Regions from separate parts of the Homo sapiens genome. Here region 1 is linked to region 2. Evidence: promoter capture Hi-C in 16 types of primary human blood cells and fetal thymus (Javierre and others, 2016). All regions are on one chromosome and are shown on one strand. The core of a region is centred on a gene start or on the middle of the fragment in contact, and the rest is flanking DNA. Distances in the headings are between cores, read along the strand shown.

Region 1 (2,706 bases), core at 169-2,668, 37 kb before region 2:
TCCCCAGCATTTGGGGATCAGAATTTTTAAGGACAACTTGGTGGGTGGGGGGAAACCAGTGAGTCAGGAGTGCTGATTGGTCGTCAGGTCAGAGATGAAATCACAGGGAGTGGAAGATGTCTTCTTGTGCTGATTCAGTTCCTGGGCCCGGGAGGTGTAGGGGGGTAGGGGGTGGGGCAGGGTGGGCACAATTGTGAGACTTTTTCCTATGTGTGAGCCCATGCAAATTGAGAAACAGGGAGTGAGAATCCAAGAGGTTTCTCTAATCCTACCAACATGTCCATTTTTCTGATGCTTTCTGATGCTGCCTAAATAGCTGACAGTTGCAGAAGCCGTGTGACCCTTGAATGTTGGTGTGGATGTGATATGACTGAGGAGAGAAAGAGGTTTCCTTTAAAAGGTATCTCTACATTAGATAGGTGAGCCTGTCTATGGAGGTTATTGGAAAGGGTGTAAAGGTTTTATTAACTTTCAGGGAAAACAATTTTAAATCAAACCCAAATTCCAAGTGCCTTAAATTTGTTAGCACTTCAATAAAAAAACTCCAGCCTGGGAGAAAGTGGCAAGTGCTTGAGGAGTTGAGCCATCAATTAAACCTTGTAAGGTGTGCAAATACATTAAGAAAATTAAAGAAATACATCTTTGGAGGACTGAATCTTATAATAGGTTTGTACTTGAAAAGATTATTTGCAAATGAAGAAATTGAAGTACTGAATTGTTTAAAACCTTTTGGTCAAAAGGAATATTATACTCAGGAATAACATAAAATATATAAATAAAAAATGTATAAAGAACTCTGTCAAAATCACAAAGATCTTAAAAATAATTTTAATGGTGTTCTTGTTTTCTGATATAAATACTTTCACTTAAAAATGTTTTTGGATGAGAAAAGGCAAAATCTAATTTTAGTTAAATGACCTTAATGTTCCTTCCACGTACAATATGGGGAATAAAAGATATGCAAATTAACTTTAGGCTTAATGAGTAATCATAAAAAGGATTATAAAATCCTTCCACAAAGCTTTTAATATTATTTAGTTGAGGGAGAGATTTTATAGTTATATCCAGTTCCCATTAATACTCCCAAGCAGGGGAAACATTTTTATTTTTTGATAAAGTTTGGGTTAAAAGAAGTCTATATTTGTTCTCTCTGAATTTGCCTCAGTGGGAAATAAAAATACAAACATGAGATTTTTAGTCTATTTAAGACTTTTAATCTATTTATTATTTTACAAAACAGTTAAATACCTACATTCCTTACACTTAATTTGTAAATCAGATGTTTTTATTAATTATAATATTTAAATATATAAATAAAAACATAGGTCTTCAATTAAATTGAGCCACAATTTAAACATGTAGTGCATATAAATTTGGTTCTTATAAACTTCAGACAGTATTCTATTTATGTAGAGTTTATTCATCAGTTAAACCAGCTGGGCCTAGTTTTATAATGTTCTTGTTTCCCTGTAAAATTGTTGTTATAAGCTGTGATTTCATTATCCTTTAAAATTAACTTATGTTTTCTAAAATCCATCATTTAGGAGCTTTAGAACAATTTAATATTATGGCACTTGTAAATCTTTATTTATCTTGACACTTTTAAATAAAATTTGGAGAGATGCAGAAAGTGAAGTCTATCGTTACCATATTATCTTCATTTTAAAAAAAAATCTATTTATTCTCATGGATATAAATTAATTTGTTCTTCAGATTACCCAAATGAAGGTAGTTTATACCAACGGATTATATACATTGTCCAAAAATGTGCTTGACAAGGTGCTTATGTTTTAAACATTAGAACTTTTAAGCTTAAATTACATTGTCCTTTAATTACTGTTTAGTTAAGAACATATTGTAGGCTTCGAGTAGGCAGCTGCGGCCACATTCCCATGACAGGCTCCATTTTCTGGAGACTGTACAGCCCTTTGAGGTGAAATGGCTCCAGCGAGAGAGATGCAGGCAGTGGCAAAGAAGGGACCTCTGAGACCTCAGGCTGCCCATAGGGAGGGATCCTGAGGACCCAAGAGTCGCTAGGGCTTGTGCTTTTTTTCTTTGCAGTCACCGTGCCTATCATGAGGATGACCTTGGCCTGGATCACCTCTTTCCAGAACAAGCATCTCTGAATGTATCGGCAGGTGCTCAGCTTTGAGCCAGGCCCGGGTTTGACCATGGCCTGCAAAGGGTGTCAAATAAGCACCTTGGAGTGAACATGTTTGATAAGCTGAACCGTGATGGCTTTCATATAGTTTCTTATTTTTTGTTTCAAATGCTGGACCAGTCTCTCACCAAAGAAGTTTTTAAATTTTGTTGGCCACCATTTGACCAAGAAAGTGATACGATATTCAGGAAACATTGCTGTGAATGGTTAACAAGGATTTCTGCTGAATGTGGAAGCTTTCCTCAAATTGTTGTTCACTATTTATTTCTCCTAGCGGTTCTGTTTACTCATCTGATGTAACATCTTGCGAGATTTGTTGTAATAAAATATATGAAAACCAATTCTAAAAATTCTTTATGTTTTGCAGACATTTAATGTGAAATCACAAAGTTTGCACAAGCGCAATGCCAGATGCCATTTAGCACGTAACAAATGTTTACAAATTTTGCAAAGAGCAGATTGTATTACCCCAAAATCTCAGGAAAATGTACAATTATTAGTTAAGTATGTCTGAAATTTGAGATCTAGATGTATAGAACTGCAAA
Region 2 (2,700 bases), core at 13-2,512:
AGCAAAAGAGGAAGAAAGGAACAAAGGATGTATAAAATAACCAGAAAAGAATGAACAAAATGGCAAAAGTAAATCCTTACCTATCAATACTTACTTTGAATGTAAATGGATTCAGTTTGCCAATTGAAGGAGTGGCTGAATTGATTTTTTTAAATGACTCAACTGTATTTTGCTTACAAGAGACTCATTTCAGTTTTAAGGAAACACATAGGCTGAAAGTTAAGTGATGGAAAAAGATGTTCCATGGAAAAAGAAACCAGAAAAGAGCAGGAACAGCTTTTCTTACAACAGAAAAAATAGACTTTAGGTAAAAAACCACAAAGTGAGACAAAGAAGGTCATTATATAATAATAAAGGGATCAATTAATTGAGAGATCAGCATGTCCATCACCTCAAATATTTATTATTTATTTGTGATGAGGTCATTTAAAAATCTTTCTTTTAGCTCTTTACATTATTATTAACTATAGATACTGGAGTACTATTCAGCCTTTAAAAAACAGAAAATTCTGTTATTTGCAATCATATGAATGAACCTAGAAGACACTATGTGAAGTGAAATAAAGCAGGCACAGAGAGACACATACCATATGATCTCACTTAGATGTGGAATCTAAAAAAATTGAACTCATAGACGTAGAGATTAGCATGGTTGTTACCAGAGCCTCGAGGGAGGGTGGATGGGGAAAGGGGAGACATTGGTCAATGGGTACAAACTTTCGGTTAGATAGGAGGAATAAGTTCTGGTGTTCTGTGGGCACAGCATGGTGACTACAGTTAAAAATAATTATTTATTTCTTTTTTTACAATTATACTTTAAGTGCTGGGGTACATGTGCAGAACGTGCAGGTTTGTTACATAGGTATACACGTGCCTCACATAGGTATACACGTGCTTATTTCTTATCTAATTGTTTATAAGTTTTTTCAAGTTTGCTTGCTTGCTTGGTTGATTCATTCATTCAAATTCGTTTCACACAAAATGCCAACTGGCTCTAATTTGTCTTTATTTCTTAATGGGAAGAAAGGCCCACACAGACATGAGCACTGCTGGCAAGTCTCCCACGCTTACACAGAGTATCCAGCTCAGATAAGTGATACATGTTGTCCTTCTTCCTGCCTGACATCAGGTATCTCCCATCCCTTTTAGTTCACTGCACAGAACCCTGACGCATTTCCAAAACTAATAAAGGCGGGCTACTGCTCTGCTACAGTGATCTCTGTTTGGTCACCTGCAACACAGCCCTTCATTCTGGTGGAACATGTCAGTCATGAAGCCCTGTTTAATGACCATTGCCATCCTTATGATCCTGGCTCAAAAGACTCCAGGTAACTCAGGCCTCTCTCAAAGGTTCTGGCGTCTTGCATGTGGTACTGGTATCTTGGTGACCTCTGCAGTGACTCCTACTCACATATAGTGGGCAACACCTAAAGCCTTTTCTGGTCTCAGGTGGGTCACAGATGTTATTCCCAAGGTTAATTTCATGTAAAGATCTCCCCTGGTTCTGCTCTGCCAAGACAAATTGAAGAGGTTGTTGATCCTGGCATAGTGGACAGTCTAAGCATGGAACATTTTAGGTAGTGCTGTCATTGGGATGGGGGCTTAATTCATGAGTTAGGTGTGAGAGACTGTGTGCAAGTTGAGGAGCTATAGGAGGGGTATAGCAGTTTGGAGTTGGGTAGGGAGTTGAGGTGGGGAGGTTGTAAGACCTTAGAGATAGGGTAATATCCAAAAAGTGAGTGGGGATGAGCATGGGGTGAATAATTGTATTTATAGGTTGGGCTGAATAGATGTTTTGGTGCATTCTAGAGAGGAAATGGTATTTTTTCTTGAATGGAGCTGGGGTAGAGTTGGTGCAACTGGGAGTTGGGGTATAGAGAGGTTTGTAGCTGGGTTGTGTTTTAGATTGATGCTGTGAATGGGGTTGGGTGGCTTGGATAGTGTTATGTTTGTATGTTTTGCAGTTGGGCTTTTGGTGGTTATTAGAAGAGGTAGGGCTTGAGTTGTAGTTAGTGTTTGCCTAAAGTGGGTATCTTATTCAGTCATGGGTATGTGAGGTTTATCTGGGCAGGGATTGACTTAGCCTGGGTTTGGGGGTGATTAAGCTTGAGTAAGACAGTTGAATTCATCACAGCAGGGTTGTGGCTATTGAAATAAGGAGAATATTGACTCCTTCTCAGATATATGATTTGCAAATATTTTCTCCCATTCCATAGGTTGTTTCTTCATTTTGTAGACTGTTTCCTTTGCTGTGCAGAAACTTTCTAGATTGCTGCAATCCCCTTGTTTATTTTTGCTTTTGTTGCCTGTGCTTTGGTGTCATATCCAGAAAATCCTTCCCAAGGCCAACGTCAAGAAGCTTTTTCTCTATGTTTTCTCCTAGGAGTTTTATAGTTTCAGGTCTTAGATTTAAGTCTTTAATCCATTTTGAATTTGTTTTTGTGTATGGTGTAAGATAAATATCCAATTTTATTATTTTGCATCTAGATACCTAGTTTTCCCAATACATTTATTGAAGAGACTATACTGTCATGAATATGTCCTAGAAATCTACTGTACAACACAGTTCCTATAGTTAACGGTACTGTGTTGGATATTTCAAAAATTACCAAGGGAGTGGATTTTATGTTAAGTGTTCTTAAAATAAGATTTGATGTACCAAAAATAATAAATAAGATGGTGGGAGAAAACTTTTAGGCG

The links. Contacts are between HindIII fragments. The CHiCAGO score rates a contact against its expected background, and 5 or more counts as called.
Region 1: a contact is called between a fragment that was not itself captured here and the fragment with the promoter of DEFB116 in region 2, in 3 of 17 cell types (total CD8 T cells, total CD4 T cells and naive CD8 T cells). The highest score is 5.3, in total CD8 T cells.

Annotation. Positions count from the first base shown.
Region 1 is chr20:31,344,248-31,346,953 of GRCh38, reverse strand. It overlaps the pseudogene HAUS6P2. Among named protein-coding and RNA genes, the nearest start is that of DEFB118, 23 kb to the left of the region's middle. The HindIII fragment of the contact is 790 bases long and covers 1,024-1,813 here.
Region 2 is chr20:31,307,147-31,309,846 of GRCh38, reverse strand. It overlaps DEFB116 (defensin beta 116), which reads left to right and starts at 1,262. Exons shown (of 2, transcript NM_001037731.1): 1 at 1,262-1,328. The coding sequence starts at 1,262. The HindIII fragment of the contact is 2,687 bases long and covers 1-2,107 here.